Regions from separate parts of the Homo sapiens genome. Here all the other regions are linked to region 2. Evidence: promoter capture Hi-C in 16 types of primary human blood cells and fetal thymus (Javierre and others, 2016). All regions are on one chromosome and are shown on one strand. The core of a region is centred on a gene start or on the middle of the fragment in contact, and the rest is flanking DNA. Distances in the headings are between cores, read along the strand shown.

Region 1 (4,365 bases), core at 1,866-4,365, 310 kb before region 2:
AAAATTAGCCGGGCGTGGTGGCGGGGGCCTGTAATCCCAGCTACTCGGGAGGCCGAGGCAGGAGAATCGCTTGAACCCGGGAGCCGGAAATTGCAGTGAGCCGAGATCGCGCCATTGCGCTCCAGCCTGGGCAACAACAGCGAAACTTCGTCTCAAAAAAAAAAATTATTCGTAATTGGTAACATTAACAAGGAATTATGACTGGGGGGGTCAGGAAACCTGGATTCTGGTCCAAGTTCTACCTTTATAGTTGTCAAATATATATATTTGTTTATTTATACACATACATATGTCATATATGATTAATAATTGTATATATTTATGGTGTACAACATGATGTTTTGAAATATATGTACATTGGGCCGGGCGCGGTGGCTCACGCCTGTAATCCCAGCACTTTGGGAAGCCGAGGCGGGCAGATGACGAGGTCAGGAGTTGGAGACCAGCCTGCTCAACATGGTGAAACCCTGTCTCTACTAAAAATACAAAAATTAGCCAGGCGTGGTGGCGCATGCCTATGATCCCAGCTACTCAGGAGGCTGAGGCAGGAGAATCGCTTGAACCGGGGAGGCGGAGGTTGCAGTGAGCCAAGATCACACCTCTGCACTCCAGCCTGGACGACACAGCGAGACTCCGTCTCAAAAAAAAAGAAAAAAGAAAAGAAATATATGTACATTGCAGAATGGGTAAATCAAGCTAATTAACATATGCATTACTTCACATATTTATTTGTGATGAGAACATTTAAAATCTCTTGGCAACTTTATTTCTTTTCTTTTTCCTTCCTTCCTTCCTTTCTTCTTTCCTCCTTTCTTTCTTGACAGAGTCTTGCTGTGTTGCCCAGGCTGGAATGCAGTGGCATGCTCTTGGCTCACTACAACTTCTGCCTCCCAGGTTTCAAGCAATTCTCCCGCCTCGGCCTCCCGAGTAGCTGGGATTACAGGCGCCCGCCACCACGCCCGGCTAATTTTTGTATTTTTAGTAGAGACGGGATTTCACCATGTTGACCAGGCTGGTCTTGAACTCCTGACCTCAGGTGATCCACCCGCTTCAGCCTCCCAAAGTGCTGGGACTGCAGGTGTGAGCCACCACACCCGGCCCAATAGATCTCCTCAATTTTACCTTACCTTGATGTATGATTTTAGGCAAGTCAGTTTTCCTCACCAGAGTTTGATAAATCAGGGGCAAGGAGGAAGTTAAACAAGCAGATGACTGCAGAGGGTCCTTCCAGTTCTAACATCAACGGAAGCTAACTACATTCCCCACTCAAATCATCTCTGCACATACAGCCCGCAGGAAGCCCTTTGAAATGTATTTAACCACCTTTCTCGCTCTCAGAATGATCTCAACAAGAACAGCTTTGCTTTCCTTGGAGCTCTGCATCAATCTAGGAAGGCTGCTTTGTCTCTTCACTACTTGAGCAGGATGGAGAGATATGAGCGGGAAAGACAGATAAGAAATCTGAGAAAGCCCCACAAGGTGGGTTGATAGTGTGAAGAACATGGGCTGAAGCATCCAAATCTTGGTTCAGCTACTTACAGGGTAACCTTGAGAAAGTTACTTAAACTTGTCAGCTCGGACGGGCGTGGTGGCTCACGCCTGTAATCCCAGCACATTGGGAGGCCGAGGTGGACGGATCACGAGGTCAGATCGAGACCACCCTGGCTAACACGGTGAAACCCTGTCTCTACTAAAAATACAAAAAAATTAGCTGGGCGCCTGTAGTCCCAGCTACTAGGGAGGCTGAGGCAGGAGAATGGCGTGAACCCGGGAGGCGGAGCTTGCAGTGAGCCGAGATCGAGCCTCTGCACTCCAGCCTGGGCCACAGAGCAAAAGAAAAACAAACAAACAAACTTGTCAGCTCCATCTGCTGTAAGAATTATATGAGTAACATGGAAATGCCTGACTAGACCCTGTTCCCGTTTTTACCCTTAGCCCGTTCAAATCTTCATAAGGATAATTAGTAGCAGTTTGAGTTCTGGGATTCACACTCCAAACTACTGTTTTACTCACCCAGCTACCCTTTTCTGAAATACTACTGAAAACCATACCTGTATCAGTTTACCTCCATTGTTTTACTTGAAGTGAATTCCTGGACCATCAGACATTAGACCAAGGCAAAAAAATAAAAATAATCAATCAACCCTGAGTTTTGGTATTACTACTTTCTAGTCATGGATCTGCCTCCTCATAGGTAAAATTTGCAAAATATTACCCGCCGTGTGTGCCTCAGAACTGTTATGGATTAAGGAAGAGAACAATTTTTATGAAAACGTTTTGTAAATTATACAAGTGTGGGACATAATGTTCCCGGTAACTGTATGCAAACAATAAGACAACAAACGCAAAAGGCTTTTTAACTTGTTGCAGTTTTCCTGCCCCGTGTCCCTCCGTGAATGAGCAGCGTGCAGCGAGCGTGTGCGCACAGCTGCTGTTCTCCATTAACGCCACACTGCTCGGCTTGCGGACGGGGAAACCCGCCATCGCGCTCCTGCCGCCTGCCGAGCGAGGATCACCGCTCCACTGGGGTCAGCGGGCTGTTGACTCCCCGCCTGGGTGAAACCGGAGCTTCCGAGTCACGTGGCGCGCGAAGACAAACCTGGCTGCTCAGGGTTTCCCGGAGCTTTCTCCCAGCTTCCCGGCGATTCATATTCTGGCGCTTACCCCTCCCTTTAGGCTGGCGGAACCCAATCCCCGCCTGACAAATAAGTCCCGCCGGCCGGACGCAGTGGCTCGCGCCTGTGGTCCTAGCTGCTCGCGGTGCTGAGGCGGGAGAATCACCTGAGCCCGGGAGGTCGGGGGCTGCATGGAACCGTGATCGCACCACCGCACTCCAGCCTGGGCAACAGAGCGAGACCCTGTCTCCAAAAATAAGAATAAAGAAAAAAAAAAGAAAGAACTGCGGCCCCATTGGCCTGACTCTCCTGAACAGCCAAACTGTCTCCGACCAGTTACGGAAGAGGCGGCCTTGAGAGGGTAGTGTGCCATTGGCTCGATGTCCTGCCCCTCCGAAACCTAAGTCTTCAGCTTCCAATCAGGACTCAGCTTTGGGAAGAGCGCCACGCGGTGGGCGAGGGGATGCCCTAGTAAATTCGCAGGTCTCTTGACTCTTTCCGCCTTTGTTTACAACCCTGCCATGATCTCCCTCTTGCAAAAGCGAGGGCTACAGAACAGGCATTCAGGAGTCCTGTGCTCCAGTCACAGCCTTTTCTGTTCTTCAGCTAGGAGACACCAAACCCTCAGGAAGATTTACTATAGCTAAGAGAAAACTGCAGCAGAAAGGGCGCGGCTACCTACTTCTTAAATTCCGTTTGTGGACCCTCAGACTCTTAGTCCCCTACTCCCAGATACAGCGGCCCTACCGTGGCTCCTGGCAAGGTGGCATCCACTTTTGTAGTGTAAGGCTGGGGGCGGGGTTTGGCTGGCAGGTCCAGGATACGAGATCCTGGAAGAAAGAAAAGGTGTAGTGTTTGGGGAGGTCAACGGGCTATGCTGGCTTGACAGGGCTGGGCTCTTCAGAACAGGTAATGCTTGGGGGGGGCCTCTTTGTCTAAACCTGAGGGATAGGGCTGAAGGTGAAATATCGAGGGGACAGGTGAGGGGGCTTGCTAGTGAGGAAGGAGTGGGGGGGCGGGGATAATGGAAAAGGGAGCAGAGGAGCCCAGAAACTGTAGGGGGTAGTAAGCAGCCATCATTCCGTTTCTGCAACCCTCCGTCCCACACGCCTTCCTGCAGAAGCATGGATCTCGGAATCCCTGACCTGCTGGACGCGTGGCTGGAGCCCCCAGAGGATATCTTCTCGACAGGATCCGTCCTGGAGCTGGGACTCCACTGCCCCCCTCCAGAGGTTCCGGTAACTAGGCTACAGGAACAGGGACTGCAAGGCTGGAAGTCCGGTGGGGACCGTGGCTGTGTGAGTGTGACGAGTGGGAGTGGGGGTGGGGTTGAGACACAACTCTGTGATAAGAGGCTTCAGCTCCCACTTGGAGACAGGTCTGAAAACAGACCACCCCCAAAATAGACGTAAGTTGTATAATAACTGTCTCCATGCCCAAGAAGTGAAAGGACTGAAAATGAAGCATAAGTCAGGGAGGACTTCCAAAATTCTTCCCTGCACATATATATAACCTTTTCCTACTGTAGGGCCTTCAAGAGAGTGAGCCTGAAGATTTCTTGAAGCTTTTCATTGATCCCAATGAGGTGTACTGCTCAGAAGCATCTCCTGGCAGTGACAGTGGCATCTCTGAGGACCCCTGCCATCCAGACAGTCCCCCTGCCCCCAGGGCAACCAGTTCTCCTATGCTCTATGAGGTTGTCTATGAGGCAGGGGCCCTGGAGAGGATGCAGGGGGAAACTGGGCCAAAT
Region 2 (4,481 bases), core at 260-2,759:
AGTGTGAGAAGACTGATGATTTCAGAGAGATTAATAGAGCCCAAGTCCTTTCCCATCCCAGCAAACACCTGCCACCTTTCTGCAGAACTTCCAGGTCCTGAGTCAGAGACACCTGGTGAGAGACTACGGGAGGGACAGACACTTCGGGACTCAATGCTTAAGTATCCAGATAGTCACCAGCCCAGGATCTTTGGGGGGGTCTTGGAGAGTGATGCAAGAAGTGAATCCCCCCAACCAGCACCAGACTGGGGCTCCCAGAGGCCATTTCATAGGGTGAGTATCCCATCTGGTCCTGAAGTGAGAGCTTGTGAGAGACCACTAATAAAGTGCAAAGACTGGCTAGGTGCGGTGGCTCACGCCTGTAATCCCAGCACTTTGGGAGGCCGAGGTGGGCAGATCACCAGAGGTCAGGAGTTGGAGACCAGCCTGGTCAACATGGTGAAACCCCGTGTCTACTAAAAATACAAAAAATTAGCCGGGCATGGTGGCAGGTGCCTGTAATGCCAGCTACTCAGGAGGCTGAGGCAGGAGAATTGGTTGAACCCAGGAGGTGGAGACTCCATCTCAAAAATTGTTTGAGACCCAGCCTTGCTCTGTTGCCCAGGCTGTAGTGCCGTGGCACAATCTCAGCTCACTGCAACCTCCAATTCCCAGGTTCAAGTGATTCTCCTGCCTCAGCCTCCTGAGTAGCTGGGATTACAGTCGCCTGCCAAACGCCCAGCTAATTTTTGTGTTTTTAGTAGAGATGGCGTTTCACCGTGTTGGCCAGGCTGCTTTTGAGCTCCTGACCTCAGGTGATCCACCCACCTCGGCCTCCCAAAGTGCTGGAATTACAAGTGTGAGCCATCATGCCTGGCCAAAGATTGCAATTCTTGTTTGAATCTGATAGCCTTGGGTTGGAATCCTAAGCCCTCCATTTAGTGTTTTCTGTTTTCTATATTAAGCTTGTGGGATTTTCTTTGGGGGGAGATGGGTGTTCTGTTTCTTTTAAAAAACAAAAACAAAAAAACACCACTGGTCTAGATAATTCTTGGATAAGGCAGGATTGTGCACAGAGGATAGGAATATATCAGTTCAGGAAGTCTTTCTGGTAGAAGGATACATAAAACAGCCAGGAAGGAGTGTGTAAATAAGGCTATTCTGAATGGAATTATCTCTTCTGTGGAAGGGGGTTTTGGAGCTCGGGAGTAGTTTGAGGTCTATGACCTTTCAAATTTCAGATTGGAAGGAGTCTTTTCACTTACTATGGTTTCTTCTGCAGTTTGATGATGTATGGCCTATGGACCCCCATCCTAGAACCAGAGAGGACAATGGTAAGTCTGGAGGAAGGGGAAGTTTACCAGCCTTTTGTTATTCTTCTGAAGTTCTGTGTGTTCTCCCTCCCTGAAGTTTCTTCCTGTACACTTGTCTCCTTTTTTCCTTTGGACTCTTTCTCTCCTGCTTCTTCATCTCTCTGCTCTTCCAGATCTTGATTCCCAGGTTTCCCAGGAGGGTCTTGGCCCGGTTCTACAGCCCCAGCCCAAATCCTATTTCAAGAGCATCTCTGTGACCAAGATCACTAAACCAGATGGGGTGAGTTGAAAGAAAGAGGTAAAGGAAAGTATGGCCAGGGAACGAATGCCCTGAAACAGGGATCTGTGTAAAGAAACTGCTGAGCATAACCTTTAGTAACATTCGGAATATGGTGGGGACTTCTCTTTGTAGATAGTGGAGGAGCGCCGGACTGTGGTGGACAGTGAGGGCCGGACAGAGACTACAGTAACCCGACACGAAGCAGATAGCAGTCCTAGGGGTGGTAAGTTAAAAGACAAAGGGGTTCATCTCAAGATTCCTTGGGGAAGGGAAATCTTACTCTTCTACCCTTGTCCTTTGCTTCTGCCTAGTCTCTTTCATTTAGCCTATTTACGTGTATGACTTTCTTCCTTAGATCCAGAATCACCAAGACCTCCAGCCCTGGATGATGCCTTTTCCATCCTGGACTTATTCCTGGGACGTTGGTTCCGGTCCCGGTAGCCTTGTTAACCCTCAGAGGCCTTCAAGTCCTTTCCACCTCTCACCCATTGCCCACCATTAATAAGCTTAGCTTCTCTTGCCACCTCAGGGGCTTGGATATGTGGAATAGTGAACTGGGGCCATGTCAGTTTGTCACTCACCCAAACTGACCAATAAAACCTTTATTTATGCTAATTTTTTGTCTTGGTTTTGTCAAGGCTATTTCAGTTTCTAGAACCATCCAACACTTCCGAAATTATCTTGGTCCTCTGCCTTCTCCTTATTCCTTAATTTTTTATTCTGCATCTAAAACCTGATTTCATAAGTAAGGGTCAGGCACAAGTAGAAAATGATTTTTCTTTCTCAAGCAAGAAAAAAAAAAAAAGAGGCCGGGCTCGTTGGCTCATGCCTGTAATCCCAGCACTTTGGGAGGCTGAGACAGGCAGATAACCTGAGGTCAGGAGTTCAAGACCAGCCTGGCCAATGTGGTGAAACTCTGTCTCTACTAAAAATACAAAAATTAGCTGGGCATGGTGGCGGGTGCCTGTAATCCCAGGCTAGGGCAGGAGAATCGCTTGAACCTGGTAGGAGGAGGTTGCAATGAGCCGAGATCACGCCATTGCACTCCAGCGTGGGCGACAAGAGTGAAACTCCATCTCAAAAAAAAAAAAAAAAAAAAAAAAGAAAAGAAAAGAAAAAGAAAAATGATTTTTCTTACTGAGGAGATGACTAGAAATAATTTCAGGAAAATTTCTAGAGAGGGATACATCAGATTCCCAAAAAAAGGGTGTGGGTGTGGAAGTAGGGGTTAACTGCTTCCCTGAGTGTGGGATCACTGACTGGAGAGTTCATGAAGTAACTGGGGAAGCACATGGGTAAATTTCCCTTACTTTACTGGCCTTAAAAAGTTGTTATGTGGCTGGGTGTGGTGGCTCACGCCTGTAATCCCAGCACTTTGGGAGGCCGAGGCAGATGGATCACATGAAGTCAGGAGTTCGAGATTAGCCTGACCAATACGGTGAAACCCTGTCTCTACTAAAAATACAAAAATTAGCCAGATGTGGTGGCACATGTTTGTAATCCCAGCTACTTGGGAGGCTGAGGTAGGAGAATTGCTGGAACTCAGGAGGTGGAGGTTGCAGTGAGCCATGATCATGCCATTGCACTCCAGCTTGAGCAACAAGAACGAAATTCCATCTCAAAAAATTGTTATGTATGTTAGAGAAAATACACCTGGCACAAACGTTACTAGGTCCTTTTTTCTTTTTGAGGCAGGGTCTCATTCTGTCACACAGGCTGGAGTGTAGGGGGCGATGTTGGCCCACTGTAGCCTCGACCTGGGCTCAGTCCTCCCACCTCAGCCTCCTGAGTAGCTGGGACTACAGGCGTACACCACCATGCCTAGCTAATTTTTTTTCTCGTTTTTTTTCCTTTTATTATTATTATTATTTTGTATTTTTTGTAGAGACGGAGTTTTGCCATGTTGCCCAGGCTTCCTTTTCTCATTATAAAAGTTTTTAACCAGGTGTGTTAGACTGTACCTATCATCCTAGCTACTTGGGAGGCTGAGATAGGAGGATTACTTGAGCCCAGGAGGCGGAGGCAACATAGCAAGATCCTATTTCTAAAATATATATATATATATATATATATTTTTTTTTTTTTTTTTTTTTTTGAGATGGACTCTCGCTTTGTCACCCAGGCTGGAGTGCAGTGGCGCAATCTCGGCTCACTGCAACCTCTGCCTCCCGCGTTCAAGTGATTCTCCTGCCTCAGCCTCCCGAGTAGCTGGGACTACAGGCACGTGCTACCACGCCCAGCTAATTTTTGTATTTTTAGTAGAGACAGGGTTTCACCATGTTGGCCAAGCTGGTCTCGATCTCTTGACCTTGTGATCCGCCTGCCTCAGCCTCCCAAAGTGCTGGGATTACAGGCGTAAGCCACCACGCCCCGCAAAATATTTTTTAAAAATTGGCTGAGCAGGCTGGGCATCGTTGCTCACACCTATAATCCCAGCACTTTGGGAGGCTGAGGCGGGTGGATCACTTGAGGTCAGGAGTTCAAGCAGGCTGGGCACTGTGGTTCACACTTGTAATCCCAACACTTTGGGAGGCCAAGGTGGGCAGATCACTTGACGTCAGGAGTTCGAGACCAGCCTGGCCAACATGGTGAAACCCCAACTCTACTAAAAATACAAAAATCAGCTGGGTGTGGTAGTGCACACTTGTAATCCCAGCTACTTAGGAGGCTGAGGCGGGAGGATCATTTGAACCCAGGGGGTGGAAGTTGCAGTGAGCTGAGATTGTGCTGCTGCACTCCAGCCTGGTTGACAGAGCGAGACTCCATCTCAAAAAACATAAATAAATAAATTAGCTGAGCATGGTGGCCCACATCTGTAGTCTCAGCTATTCAGGAGGCTAAAACAGGAGGATCCCTGGAGGCTGGAGTTCGAGGCTGCGGTGATCTATGATCACACCACTGCATTCCAG
Region 3 (4,755 bases), core at 1,094-3,593, 500 kb before region 2:
GGCTCCAGCAGTGCTTCAGTGAGAACCCAGCCAGTGCACAGGGGGAAAAGGAGCACTGGGTGCAGGTGGAGTCGGCGCCAGCAGCTGCCCAGGCTGTTAACTTCCCATTTCCCCTCCCATCTCTTCCAGGAAGAGGAAGACACGAAACCGAAGCCTACCAAGCGGAAACGAAAAGGGTCCTCTGCAGTGGGCTCTGACAGTGACTGAGGCCCTGCATTCCCCATCCCACCCCCGGCTGGACTGCCCTCTCCTTCTTGGTGATTCAAAGGTTAATAGAGGCTGAGGAGATTGCAGGGGAAACACCCTTGCTGCATCCCCAAGCTCCCCCGGTGGAAGGAGGAGCTTTCTCCTCTGGCTGAGTTTGAGAAGCTGCCATGCAGCCCCTAGCCCCTTCCCTCCTCCTGGGGCCTCCAGCCCCTCACACTGCTGTTCCCAGTGATATTTGGGATCTGACTGAAGCCAGAGGCTCTGTAAAATCAGACCATAGTGGAAGTCCTCAGCCCCCTGGCCCCTTCCGCAATCTCCTCCCCCAGTCTCCCAAAGAGCCATTTCAACAGAGAAGGGAAATGACAAAGGGGCAGCTGGCCAGATAAGCTAGGATGAGAGCAGAGACTCAGTGTGTGGGTGTCCCTTCCTGCTTCCCCTTCAGGTCTTGGTTTGTTCTGAAGGGACGTTTTATAGTCACTATCCACATGCCAGTGTGAAATGGGCATCTATGACGTGGTCAGGGTGTCCATTCCTAATCATGGGGCAGATGCCACAAGCATTCAGAAAGGAGTCTGAAAGGGTGGCCACAGCCCCACGTGGTGTGCCCTGGAGGCTTAGGTTGGTCTGAGGTTGGCACCTCAATCTACACCAGAGCCCAGGGAGTCCCAGAGGCAAGTTTCACAGAATTGTCAAATGATCCCATTTCCTTGAGTCTGTTTTTTTTTTTGTTTTTTTTTGTTTTTTTTTTGGCAGAGATAATCGTGTCTTAAAAGTTGTTTTTAAATGACAATAAAACAAGCCAGAATGTCTTTTGTGCTGGAGTGTCTGCTGGCATTTGCCCCGTGCATGTATAGCTTGGTCTTGATTTGATTGGCACCCCTACTTGTAACCGCAGAACATCCCCCTTTCCCTTCCTGTTCTGCCCCCACTTTTGTCTAGAGCAGAAGGGACTTGGCTTTGGCCACTACCCATCCTTCCTGCTGCCACTGGAGGTGGGAGCCAGGCACTGATCTGTCTATGCAGAACCATCCCCCGTAGGATGAGGCCTGTCCTTACTCATTTCTCAAGAAACAAGATGCTTCCAAAAGGTCTGTCATCCTCCAGTTGAAGTCTGTGTGCCTACCAAGAATGGCCGGAGGACTCGCTGCTTGACGGGAGGGATGCTCCAGCTTGGTCTCCAGGGACAACTGTACCTGGAGATAAAGTCTGGATACCAGGGAGGGACAGAGATGCTCTTCCTTCCACAGTGTGGCCACTTGCTGGGCCATGTGAACCAGCAGAGGAGAGTTCCTTGGCTATGCTGTTGTTCCCCCGCTGTCCAGGGAGAATGGAGGTGGACTGAGGAGTGAAGTTTGGGCGAACTGCACAGAGCTGCTCCTCTTCACCCCGAAAATTTGTCTTTTTACAGAATCCAGGTTCTCCCCTCCCTCATCACTGCTGTTGCTTCCTTTGAAAGTCTAAACCACTGGAGGCTTCTTTTTCCTTCCTCTCTCCTTCCCCAGTTTCCTCTGTCCCAATTAAAACCAGGATGGAGAGCATTTGCTGGCTGGCCCCAATTATTGTACCCTTGCCCAAAGGGAGGGGCCTCTGTCGTGACCCCTCAGAAATCTGGCAGTCTGGGTTTCCACCTTTCCCCTATTTAACTCTCAGCCCCCACCCATCCCCTGGGGTTGCGGCTGGCAGGCCGGGACTTGCAGAACCAAATGGGCCAGGGGCCAAGTTCATTCTTTTGGGAGAGAGCAATGGTACCTTCCCTTAACGGGAAAACGAGAAATATTGAGGGGAAGATGGACTGCGATCCAAACGCCCTGGCTCTCAGGCCTGGACTCTAGGGCTTAGCCAGATGCCTAAACCGCCCAAGCCGAGAAACAACTTAGAAGACAGACATAACCCTGGGATTCAGGGAAGGCGCGAGCACCGCCCAGGACCTGGTAGGGTGCGAGCCGCGAGCAGTCCGGGAGGGAGCGCGCCTAGGGCGGAGCGTAGGCTGTGGGGGGAGGGCTGGGAGTCCGGGGCCGCCCCACACCCGCACTCCTCCCGGGTTTCTGCTCTCCGCCCGTGTGGAGTGGTGGGGGCCTGGGTGGGAATGGGCGTGTGCCAGCGCACGCGCGCTCCCTGGAAGGAGAAGTCTCAGCTAGAACGAGCGGCCCTAGGTTTTCGGAAGGGAGGATCAGGGATGTTTGCGAGCGGCTGGAACCAGACGGTGCCGATAGAGGAAGCGGGCTCCATGGCTGCCCTCCTGCTGCTGCCCCTGCTGCTGTTGCTACCGCTGCTGCTGCTGAAGCTACACCTCTGGCCGCAGTTGCGCTGGCTTCCGGCGGACTTGGCCTTTGCGGTGCGAGCTCTGTGCTGCAAAAGGGCTCTTCGAGCTCGCGCCCTGGCCGCGGCTGCCGCCGACCCGGAAGGTCCCGAGGGGGGCTGCAGCCTGGCCTGGCGCCTCGCGGAACTGGCCCAGCAGCGCGCCGCGCACACCTTTCTCATTCACGGCTCGCGGCGCTTTAGCTACTCAGAGGCGGAGCGCGAGAGTAACAGGGCTGCACGCGCCTTCCTACGTGCGCTAGGCTGGGACTGGGGACCCGACGGCGGCGACAGCGGCGAGGGGAGCGCTGGAGAAGGCGAGCGGGCAGCGCCGGGAGCCGGAGATGCAGCGGCCGGAAGCGGCGCGGAGTTTGCCGGAGGGGACGGTGCCGCCAGAGGTGGAGGAGCCGCCGCCCCTCTGTCACCTGGAGCAACTGTGGCGCTGCTCCTCCCCGCTGGCCCAGAGTTTCTGTGGCTCTGGTTCGGGCTGGCCAAGGCCGGCCTGCGCACTGCCTTTGTGCCCACCGCCCTGCGCCGGGGCCCCCTGCTGCACTGCCTCCGCAGCTGCGGCGCGCGCGCGCTGGTGCTGGCGCCAGGTAAGGCTGGAGCTCCGAACTGACTAAGGCGGGGCCAGCCACAGAAGGGGGCGTGTCGGAGACCACAGAAAGGCTTGGTCTCATCCCTGGGCCTGGGAAGAAGCCGACTATCCCTTGGGGTTCGAAAGTGGGTGGAGATAGGAGTCTCCGGGTTTGAGAAGGGATGAGGCTGAATCTTTGGTGCCCCAAGGATCCCCAAGGAGTCGAGTTCCAGGCCTCAGACCCAAGATGGAATGTCCATACCCTTCACCCTCATCCAAGAGCAGTGTGGGCTGGGATAGGGAGGGGACATGGGTCATAGGCTCTTCTAGGTAGAGCCAGGGCCCCGGCGTTGTGCTTTCCCACCCTTCTAGAGTTTCTGGAGTCCCTGGAGCCGGACCTGCCCGCCCTGAGAGCCATGGGGCTCCACCTGTGGGCTGCAGGCCCAGGAACCCACCCTGCTGGAATTAGCGATTTGCTGGCTGAAGTGTCCGCTGAAGTGGATGGGCCAGTGCCAGGATACCTCTCTTCCCCCCAGAGCATAACAGACACGTGCCTGTACATCTTCACCTCTGGCACCACGGGTGAGGGCCGGGCACCATACTTAGCTCCCCGAAACCAAGGCAGAGGAAGGCAGGGGTCTGCTCCCAGACCACTCCTTCAAAGCCCCCAGAGAGGATGCTGATTTCATTGGCACATCCTTTTTCTCCCCATCATTTCACTCCCCAGTCTCCTCACCTCCTACTCATTTCTCCACCTCCCCCAGACCACCCATATTTCCAGGACAGCCTGGTCTCGGTCCTCAGCTTCTGTCCTGCCTCCGCCTCTTTCTGTGGGAAACCCAGCGGGGGTGCAAACAGATAGGTAGAGCTTGGAGTTTGCCCTTCCCCTGATCGTCCCATAACTGCCACCCCACAGGCCTCCCCAAGGCTGCTCGGATCAGTCATCTGAAGATCCTGCAATGCCAGGGCTTCTATCAGCTGTGTGGTGTCCACCAGGAAGATGTGATCTACCTCGCCCTCCCACTCTACCACATGTCCGGTTCCCTGCTGGGCATCGTGGGCTGCATGGGCATTGGTCAGTCTCCCCAACCCCACCTTCATTAATTCATCCAGTAGACATTTATTAAGCACGTACTATGGTGTGAGTCCTCCAGGGTAGATAATCTAGAGGACGGATGGGGCAGAGCCCTACTCACCAGGAGCTCTGTACAATAGGGCAATGTCACCTGCCTAGACCTACAGACTGAGGAACGGTGAGGGGGGCCATACAGCCACATAACTCCAGGCTGCAGGGTCAAAGGCAGGGAAGGACTGTGTCAGTCCAGGAACAGGCAAGTAAGAGAAGAGGGAGAGAGAGACAAGGAAGTGAGAGTGTGGAGGATGAGATCTTTGGGGCTGGGAAGTAGGGAAAGGGCATTCACCTCTTCTAAGGCTGGGGACAGGGGCCGGGGGAGGGGAAAGAGGGCCAGCACGGCTTCCTGACGGTGTGACTCCCACAGTGGGCCCTTCCCAGGGAAAGACTACAGTGATGGCTGGGGTCTGGAAAGAGGGGCTTGGGCTCCCCACTCTGCTCCTAATCTTACCTCCCTTCTTCCCCCCTGCCCACTTCTGGCAGGGGCCACAGTGGTGCTGAAATCCAAGTTCTCGGCTGGTCAGTTCTGGGAAGATTGCCA
Region 4 (4,852 bases), core at 423-2,922, 350 kb before region 2:
TGGCTGGAGGACAGAGATGGGAAGGAAGCTTACTTTTCACTTTGTACAACCACATGCATGCTTTTCTACTCAAAATATAAATTTTTAGAAAAAATGTCCTAAAAACTACAAAAGCATCAGCTCTTCTCCAACACAGATCTGTTAAACCTGTTTTAATTCCATCAGCTACAAATCCAAATCCCTCTTTTGCAGTCTGGCCTGAAAACACTGCTCTTGCCCTTTGCTGAAATATATTAAGTATCCTTCGCCTCTGCTGAAATGTATTAAGTATCCCCCCATCTCTCTCTCTCTCTTACACACACACACACGCACACACACACGCCCCCCAAATAAGCATTTATCAGAAATGAGAAAACTGGTTCTCAGGAGGCTACCTGATTTTCCAGGGGACAACAGAGAAAAGGTTGCTAGCTAGCTCAGTTAGCATCCACATGCCACCCACCACCAAGCCTCCATCTCCACCTCACTGCCAGCCCTATGAGCTAACATCTTGTGTTTGGAAGTTGATGCTGGGGAAGAATCCAAAGAGGCTACCATACCTTTATGAAACGGGAAAGCTGTACCGGGCGCGCGAATGGCACCTGAACCTCTGCACTCGCATGAGTGGCTCGCTCCTCAATGTAATTGAGAGCAGGGAGGCCAAAAGTACTCTAAGTCCCGGTGTGGTTAGGGAAGGGTAAGTTCCACCGACCCTCAGGAACTGAACTGGAAGACAGATCCAGTGTGTCCCACAAGCCCAGTCGCTGTAGAAGCTAAGTGCCCACATAGCCTGAGACAATTCTCTTCCCCTACGGGAGGGCGAGCGAACGGTGGACGACGAAATAAAGGGGTAAGGTTATGCGCTCCTGATCCCTTTCCCTAAATAAAGATAATTATCTGGTGCTTCCTTTACCCTTAGATTCCCCATTCGTCCCATCCGCCCGCAAACACAAGACTGAGCAGGGAGCGGCCCCCGCACCCTGAGGGCACCACTGGGGGTGGAGAGAGTTAAAAAAAAAAAGGGGGGGGCGCGCTAGAGAGGAAAGGAGGGGAGCATGGCGGGCATGAGGCAGGGAGTGAAAGCGGGGATGGCGGGGGAAACGGGGCGTGAGGGAGGGGAGAAAGAGTACAAGGAGACGAAATGAAGGGACACGAGCTGGGGGCGCGCGAGGCCGAAGTGAAAGACCGGGTCGCGCGCGCCAAGGGGGGAGAGGATGAGGTGAAGAAGGAGCGCGAGGCGGGGGCGCGCCGTGCCGGGGTGGGGGGAGGGGGACGCAAGGCGGGGGCGCGCGGGCGGGCGTCGGCTCGCGGGCGCTTCCCCTCCCCCCGCCCCTCCACCTTTCCCTTCCCCCACCTCCGCCACCACTGCCTCCTCCCAGCCTCCTTCCCTTCCTCGCTCCTCACCGCCCCCGGGCGGGCGGGCGGCCAGGCTGGCCTAGGCCAAAGCTCCTCACCTGGCGGTGGCGGTGTAACTCCCGGCTAGCTCGCCTCCTCAGGCGGCGGCGGAGGCGTCGAAAAAGGAAGAGGCGACGGCACAGGGGATCCAGACCCTGCTGACGGGACTAGGGACGGGGGTAGGGGAGGGGGGCGGGCCGGACCGGGGCGGGCGGGCGGAGCAGACACTGCGGTACAGACGGGGGCAGCGGCGGCGGCGACGGCTGCACCGGCGGCGGCGGCACCACACAAACAAGGACGCTGATTGGGCAGCTGCCAAGCGCCTCGGCTCCGCCTTACCCACACGCCACGACGCCCATTGGGCGACCTAAGCCGGCCACCCCGCCCTCATCTTCTCGGCCATGCCAGTAGAAGACTAGATGCCGGGACTTCACCCCACCCTTGAAGAATGAGTGGCCGGAGAAGTGATGATTGGCGTGCTTAAAACCCAATCATAAACGGAGGAGGGGGGATGGTCTAGCGGGGGCGCGTTAATGGGTACCTCTGCCAGTCCCAGACACATCCGGGTCTTCGACAGCCCATTAAGTGTCGGGGGTCAAAAAATCGCTTCAGGCTGCAACTTTACCTTAGAGACGTTTTGGTCCCCAGGCAGCCGCCGTACCCCAGTCTCTCCAAACCGGGATTCCCCTTTGGCCATCTCTCATTCTTTCAATTCTAAAGATGGAGACTGGCGAACGGCGATGGGGTCTGCGGTGGGCGGTGTTTCGTCGCGACAGACTCTAGGAAATTTCACGATAGAACTAGCTTTAGGCGCTTGAGCCTTGCCGTCTTTTTGGGGTGTGGCCTGTCTCCGTCTGCCAAAGGCTTTGAGCTTCCTGGTGTTCATCGTACCTCCGCTTGGTCCTGTCGTGACTAAACCACGACAGCAGGAAAAAAAAAAAAGCAGCTAGCCAAGTTGCTGAGGAATTACGGTGTGCAGAGCCCTCGCAGCTCCTTCTCTTGGGAACTCCTGGTCTGGTTAGGTTCTCAGCGAGGAAACAGCCTCCCACCCCGCCCGATTCCACCTAATTAACTCAAGGGCCAGCTCCTTTTGCTGGCCTCCCTGCTTCCACGGAGCAGTTAGGCCCGCCTAAACTCAGCGAGCGTTTCTGGAGCACCTTGAGGATAGGGACCAAGTAACAGAGTCCGGGTGTTAAGGTTATGATAGTAGTTAACGTTTTTGGAAAGAGACTGTGTCAGGCTCTGTGCTAAGAACTTTACATGAAGTATTTATTCCTCATGACTGTGAGGTAGGTACTGTTATCCCTACTTTACAAATGAGGAAAATTAGGATCAAAAAATTTGTCCAGTTACACGTTAAGTGGTAGAGCTGAAATTTGAACCCAAGTAGATGAGGAAACTAAGGCTCAGAGAGGTTAAGTAACTTGCCAAAGGTCAGACCGCTAGTTAGTGACTAAGCAGTGGTTTAAACCCAGAAACAACTGGTTCCACAGGCATTTTGTTATTGTTGTTTTCTCACTGTGTCTCCCAGGCTGGAGTGCAGTGGTACAATCTCAGTTCCTGCAACCTCCGCCTCCCAGGTTCAAACGATCCTCCTGCCTCAACAGCCTCCCGAGTAGCTGGGATTACAGGCGCGCGGCTAATTTTTGTGTTTTTAGTAGAGACGGGGTTTCGCCATGTTGGCCAGGCTGGTCTCGAACTCCTGACCTCAGGTGATCCTCCTGCCTCAGCCTCCCAAAGTGCTGGGATTACAGGTGTGTGAGCCACCACGCCAGCCTCCACAGGTATTTGAACATGTTTTTTAAATTATTTAAAAGTCATGCTGTGCAATGGAAATGAAATTATAATGGAGGACATGGCAACTTAAAGCCGTAGGTAGATCCTACACAAACACAGACGCACCCATTTTTTTTTTCTTTTTTTTCTTTGAGACAGTCTCCCTCTGTCGCCCAGGCTGGAGTGCAGTGGCGTGATCTCAGCTGCCTGCAATCTCCACCACCCAGGCTCAAGCCATCTTTCCACCTCAGCCTCCCAAGTAGCTGGCATTACAGGCGCACGTGACCACGCCCGGCTGATTTTTGTATTTTTGGTAAAGACAGGGTTTCACTATGTTTCCCAGGCTGGTCTCATAAATTCCTGGCCTCAAGTGATCCACCCGCCTTGGCGTCCCAAAGTGGTGGGATTACAGGCGTGAACAACCGCGCCCACCGCAGCCCCCACTTTATTTATTTTTTAAATTAGCGATGAGGTCTTGCTATGTTACCCAGGCTGCTCTGAAACTCCTGGGCTCAAGAGATCCTCCCGGCCGGGCGCGGTGGCTCAGGCCTGTAATCCCAGCACTTCGGGAGGCCGAGGCAGGTAGATCACGAGGTCAGGAGATCGAGACCATCCTGGCTAACACAGTGAAACCCCGTCTCTACTAAAAATACAAAAAAGTAGCCGGTCGTGGTGGCGGGCGCCTGTAGTCCCAGCTACTCGGGAGGCTGAGGCAGGAGAATGGCGTGAACCCGGGAGGTGGAGTTTGCAGTGAGCCAAGATCTTGCCACTGCATTCCAGCCTGGGCGACAGAGCGAGACTCTGTCTCAAAAAAAAAAAAAAAAAAGAGATCCTCCCACTTCAGCCTCCCAAATAGCTGGGACTACAGGTGTACATCACTGCAAGCAGCATTCAACTTTTTTTTTTTTTTTTTTTTTTTTGAGACAGAGTCTCCCTCTATTGCCCAGGCTAAAGTGCAGTGGCGCAATCTCGGCTCACTACAACCTCCGCCTCCTGGGTTCAAGCAATTCTCCTGCCTCAGCCTCCTGAGTAGCTGGGATTACAGGTGCCCGCCACCACACCCAGCTAAATTTTGTATTTTTAGTAGAGATGTTGGCCAGGCTGGTATCAAACTCCTGACCTCAAGTGATCTACCCGCTTTGGCCTCCCAAAGTGCTGGGATTTACAGGTGTGAGCCACCACGCCTGGCCTAATTCTTATTTTAAATAGATTAAAACTTGTTTTTATGCTAGTATGGTGTCCAGGTAAAGAATATGGTCTCAAGAGTCAGATTGCCTGAGTTTGGATCTTGGCTCTCCCTCTTACCAGTTGTGTGATTTGGCTGAAAGTTACTTATCTCTATTCTCTATCCCCTAGTTTCCCCATCTATAAAATGGGAATAAGAGTACCCAGCTCACCAGGTAATTATGAGAATTACAAAATAATACCTTCAAAATACTCAGGGCACTGTCAAGAATATAGTTAAAGCATTCAACATAATATATAGTAACTATTTTGAGAACTTTCCTTGCTTTTTCAACAATTTCACTCTCTTACCTCTAAATTCAGCTTCTGTTGGTATTCTACCCATGGTACTGGTCTTATACTGTACTGAAAATTATTTCTCTACTAACTGCAATATTTTAACGCTTTCAGACTCCTTTCAGTCATTGAACACACATGATAGAGCCCCTATTAGGTTATCAGGCACTCATCCATGTGC
Region 5 (4,256 bases), core at 136-2,635, 330 kb before region 2:
TGTGTGTGGTGGCGGTGGCGGTGGTGGGGTTACCATTGAAGGTGCCAGCACAGCATTACGCCAAGTTGGAATCTCAGACTATAGGATCCTGAGCAAGGCAGAGGAGGCTCAGAATGGTTCCAGGATGTGCAGTCCTGCTAACCTCCTGCTGTTCCCCCAGAGAACAGGGAATAAGGAATCTCATAGAGCCAGGCTGGCTTTCTTCATCACCTGGCCTCTGGACACACACACACACACACACACGCACACACACACGCACACACGTACACACACCAACCCCAGCTAAATTTAGACTCCACTTCTGGGAGGTAAAGCCAGGAGTCAGCGTCAGCCTCTTGATTTAATTCTGGGGCACAGACCTGTCCCTCATCCACTGAGGGCGAATGGGAGCCCTATGCCCAAGGCAGCAGGCAGAGGCCATTAGGTGGGACCTTCTGAGGGGCAAGTGGGTGGCACCCATCCGCAGGACCTGCGCACCGGGGCCTCCCCTCACCAAGCCAGGGAAGAGTCCTGCAGAAAGCAGCCCTTTCTCCCTAGGGAAGACAACGGGCACAGGGCCCACTCCGGGTCCCCACGCCCGCGTGCCGGGTGACGGGAAGTTCGGGTTGGGGCAGAGGGCGCGCCGAGGGGGAGGAGGCTGAGGAAGGAGCAGGAGGGCAGAGAAGCAGGCGCGCCGGCGGCCGAGGACGTGACGGCAGCAGCGCCGGCCGCCGCGTGACCCAAGCGGGAGGGAGGGCGGCTCCGACTCCGGCACCCACGGGAGCAGAAGGGGGTGCAGGAGGCCGGGCACGGCGAGCTAATTGCGGGAGGTGCCCTCCCCTCCACTTTCACTTCCCCAGGAGAGAGGAACCGGAACCAGATGTGCAGTGAGGGACAGCAGCTGGGGGCCATCCCCCACCCCGCCTGCCGCCCGCGCTCCCTCCTGCCCGTCCCCGCCTGCCGCCCAGCCCGGTCCAGCCCCTACCTGCCTGTCCCGCGCTTCCCGGCCGGCCGGCCCGCTGGCGGGTGGCTCGGAGGGCGAGCTGGCGGGCCGGCGGGCGGCGGGGCTACCCGGCCCCAGACATGGCGCACCCGACTTGGGCGCCGCTCCCGCCCGGGCAGTGAGTGAAGGAAGAAGAGGCGGCCGAGGACCGCAGAGCGCGGGGCGCAGTGGAAGGAGATCCGGGCGGTCCCCGCGTCCCCGCCGCGCTGCGCCACGCGGGGACTGTGCTGCCGCGCTGCTCGCTCGGCCGGCTCGGTCCTCCCAGCTCCCGCGGCGCCGGGGACCCAGCGTTCCTCCGCGCGCCCCGCTTTCTCTACTCCCCCAACCCCCGCTCCGGGCCGCGGGCGCCGCCGCTACCCCCACCCCTCCTCCTCGGCCGGCGGCCGTGACCCTGGCAAGCGTCTGCCCAAAGCCCAGCCGCCTGCAGCCCGACCCCTGGCGGCTGGGAGGGCCCCCTGCACCCAGGTAGCTTCCCACCATCCAGCCCGTGCCTCAGGACACTGACCCCAGGCGACCCAGAGGGCCGCGGCGCGCTCCCTTCCCGCCTGGGTCCTGCAGTCAGATGTGGCAAGCATGATGTGGGCGCAGGTGAAGTCCCGAAGGTCTAGTCTACGGGGACCCAGGTGGCTCCCCCTACTTCCAGGTTTAGGGCACAGGGCATTCCCTTTGGACCAGAACCAGAAGCTCTCAGTTCTCTTTTTTGAAAATGACAAGAGCTTTGGAAAGAGGAAGAGAGGCCAGGACTGCAGGGTGTGGAATAGAGCAGTGGAGGTGGGGGTAAGGTAACTGCGGGGCTCTACTTTTCTCACTATGCGGGTTGGGGGAGTGAGGGGTGCAGAGGCCCACACGGCTGGTCCAAGGGCTGGCAACCCAATCCAGAAAGAGAAAACCTTCAGAACATGCATGGCACTGAAGGATCTGTTTAATTAAAACTAAAATGAATGAGTGGTGAAGAGTGGAGAGGGTGAAGTGAATGCATGCATAGTGAGGGAGTGAGGATGAAGGCTTGCTTCCCTGAGACCTAGGAGCACTTCAGACCTGTGGGCTCAGCCAGCAATCACCTCCTTACCCGACTCACTGCCAGACCTAGGGTTGAGGAAGAGGAATAACTTGTCTGATCAGTCAAAGCCCCCATCTGATGCTGCAGCAGGGCCCTGGACAGACAGGAGGGCACATGAAGTGATTTCCTGCTGCCGTGGAAGCCTACATCCAGCTGGGTACAAATTCCGAGGCTGTGGGGCCCTTCCACAAAGCACAGTGGTGCTAAGAAGATGCAAAAAGCCTAATAGATAAAAAGACCCATGGCCCTATAACTCCCTAGATCCCCAGCCATGCCCCAAATAACTAACCACACCAAGGGTTTGATATGATTTTTTTATTAACATATAATAATATATTTAATAAAAAATAGTATCCACTCTGGCTCTCTCCTCCACTGCAAGGGGAAGAGTGGTGAGGAGGGGCTGGCACTGCCCACCCCTAGGCATCCGGAAAAGCCCTGCTTCCAGGGCTCCCCTCTACCCCTGCTTTCCAACAGGCTCTGACCTCCAGACAGACGGTTCAAAGTTACAAGTGCTTTAGGCCCTCCCTTGAGTTCCCCCAGGCCCATCCCTTGCGCAGAATTCAGGGGCCACCTGGACAAACCCCTTGCTTTTTCTCATTCTTGGCATCCTTCATTCATGCTAGAAAGAGGATCTGGGGACAGAGAGTAGAGTCTCTACCTGCCAGGGGGAAGGGAGGAAAGGAATGGTGGTGGGGGATGGGGCCAAGAAGAGGGATGGTGATGAGGTGCCCTCATTGGAGCCGGTCACTGCGGAATGACTCCTCCACAGCAGGATCAGGCAGCAGGGCACAGGGGTCACTCAGCATGTTTAGCCCTTCCAGGCCCAGTGGCTCCATGCGCAGCTCATCTTCTAGCCCAAGCCCTAGCTCCAATCCAGCTGCTGACACCTCAAAGCCAGGCACTCCGGCCAGGGCTGCTGCAATCTCCTTAGAGAAACCTGGAGAGGAGTCCCCTGTGGGTAGAAGAGACAGGTGAGGACCCCATGTCCTGTAAACTTTTCCAAGACCCCTCAATCTCCTACTCATTAGTGAATGTGTCACTTCCTCCTTCCATTTCCCATCACCACCCACCCCCATTCACCTGTGAGGATGATGTTAGGCCCTGAGCCATGGCGGGAACAGTGGGTCAAGTTCTGGTGGTTGAAGGTGTGGGGATCCTGGGGGCCACCCATTGGCCCCTCACCCCCTAAAAATCCAGGCCCTTCAGAAAAGCCAGGGGGATCCAGCACCAGGCTGGCTGATGGGCTCTCCATGCTGAACTGCTCCAGCTATAGACATACAGACAAATCTTTAGGAAGTAGGATTTAGAACTGGTGTCCTGCCTAGCCCTGCTAACATATCCCCTTTGCCCAGCAACCTTCATCCACCCCAGGAACAGAGGCAATGACAGAGGGAGGTGGCAGCAAGCAGAGCGACAGAAGCGAGCACGGGGCCCGAAGTAAGTATGGGCACCGTACCTGCTGGGCCAGAGCATGTGCATGCCAGGAAGAGAACGGGTCAAGGCAGAAGTCATCAAAGAGCAAGCTGAGCAGAAATAGAGGGGCAGGAGTAGGGTCAAACGCAGGAAGAGAGGAGCCCCAAGCTGGCAGTGCTATGTTACCTCCGGGGAGAGGAGATCTCCCCACCACCCACCCCACCTAGATCTCCCCATTCACAGTGCACCAGCCATGCCATTCAGGCCCCATTGACCCACCCTCACCCACTCCCCTGCTTTTGAGCAAGGAGCCTGAGTACTCACATTCCCCAGGTTGAAGTCACTCATTGGCCGGTGGTAAGACTGTTGCCCATGCCCACTGGGCCCAGGTGGGTACGGTGTCCCATAATGAGACTGCCTGCCTGGGGGCTGCCCACCTGAGGACTGCACTGAACAAGACTGAGAGGGCAGCCCTGGCTGCTGTAGAGACTTTGGGGTGTGGGGCTGGGTAGGCAGAACCAGACTTGGGGAGCTGTATGGGTATGGGGGTAACCGCTGGTCAGTGGACAGTTTACTGGTATCCAGGGGGACGCCCTGAAAAGAAGTAAAAAGAGGGAAGCTTACTGCTCAGTGTATACCCCAAGAACTCTCAGTCAGAGCTTCCCACCTTCTTTAGCTACAACCATTCCCAAAACAAACATGACAACATTCCACATTCTCACGGGCATCCCTGGGGTTGAGTGCAGTTACTCAACCCCAGGGATGTGTATTAGTTGGCAGGGTGTGGTGGCTCATGCC

The links. Contacts are between HindIII fragments. The CHiCAGO score rates a contact against its expected background, and 5 or more counts as called.
Region 1: the fragment with the promoter of CREB3L4 here is called in contact with a fragment that was not itself captured in region 2 in 2 of 17 cell types (naive CD8 T cells and fetal thymus); the score reaches 6.1 in naive CD8 T cells.
Region 3: a contact is called between the fragment with the promoter of SLC27A3 here and a fragment that was not itself captured in region 2, in 2 of 17 cell types (naive B cells and non-activated CD4 T cells). The highest score is 6.0, in naive B cells.
Region 4: the fragment with the promoter of GATAD2B here is called in contact with a fragment that was not itself captured in region 2 in 5 of 17 cell types (fetal thymus, total B cells, total CD4 T cells and 2 more); the score reaches 6.6 in fetal thymus.
Region 5: a contact is called between the fragment with the promoter of DENND4B here and a fragment that was not itself captured in region 2, in 7 of 17 cell types (total B cells, total CD8 T cells, naive CD8 T cells and 4 more). The highest score is 7.0, in total B cells.

What each region holds. Positions count from the first base shown.
Region 1 is chr1:153,964,787-153,969,151 of GRCh38, forward strand. CREB3L4 (cAMP responsive element binding protein 3 like 4) reads left to right here and starts at 3,116. Exons shown (of 10, transcript NM_001255978.2): 1 at 3,116-3,378; 2 at 3,736-3,913; 3 at 4,144-4,365. The coding sequence starts at 3,740. It also overlaps a transcript of SLC39A1 not described here. RefSeq lists enhancers at 2,402-3,258, 2,693-2,912, 3,123-3,232, 3,263-3,382 and a silencer at 2,873-3,374. The HindIII fragment of the contact is 4,469 bases long and covers 1-4,177 here.
Region 2 is chr1:154,273,689-154,278,169 of GRCh38, forward strand. It overlaps HAX1 (HCLS1 associated protein X-1), which reads left to right. Exons shown (of 7, transcript NM_006118.4): 3 at 86-273; 4 at 1,262-1,313; 5 at 1,466-1,572; 6 at 1,705-1,795; 7 at 1,928-2,187. The coding sequence ends at 2,013. Among named protein-coding and RNA genes, the nearest start is that of HAX1, 3.3 kb to the left of the region's middle. The HindIII fragment of the contact is 1,134 bases long and covers 943-2,076 here.
Region 3 is chr1:153,773,064-153,777,818 of GRCh38, forward strand. SLC27A3 (solute carrier family 27 member 3) reads left to right here and starts at 2,344. Exons shown (of 10, transcript NM_024330.4): 1 at 2,344-3,101; 2 at 3,455-3,664; 3 at 3,999-4,157; 4 at 4,698-4,755. The coding sequence starts at 2,435. INTS3 (integrator complex subunit 3) reads left to right here. Exons shown (of 30, transcript NM_023015.5): 29 at 1-18; 30 at 130-1,745. The coding sequence ends at 207. RefSeq lists an enhancer at 2,745-3,411 and a silencer at 2,780-2,971. The HindIII fragment of the contact is 7,576 bases long and covers 1-4,755 here.
Region 4 is chr1:153,921,300-153,926,151 of GRCh38, forward strand. It overlaps GATAD2B (GATA zinc finger domain containing 2B), which reads right to left and starts at 1,673. Exons shown (of 11, transcript NM_020699.4): 1 at 1,434-1,673. LOC101928059 (a long non-coding RNA gene) reads left to right here and starts at 2,074. Exons shown (of 4, transcript XR_922160.3): 1 at 2,074-2,663. RefSeq lists silencers at 1,457-1,776, 2,454-2,748, 3,807-3,980 and an enhancer at 1,907-2,146. The HindIII fragment of the contact is 8,959 bases long and covers 27-4,852 here.
Region 5 is chr1:153,945,333-153,949,588 of GRCh38, forward strand. It overlaps DENND4B (DENN domain containing 4B), which reads right to left and starts at 1,386. Exons shown (of 28, transcript NM_014856.3): 1 at 969-1,386. CRTC2 (CREB regulated transcription coactivator 2) reads right to left here. Exons shown (of 14, transcript NM_181715.3): 12 at 3,783-4,052; 13 at 3,126-3,312; 14 at 2,343-2,997. The coding sequence ends at 2,777. RefSeq lists enhancers at 58-107, 576-1,076, 1,888-1,957 and a silencer at 598-1,497. The HindIII fragment of the contact is 4,483 bases long and covers 1-4,075 here.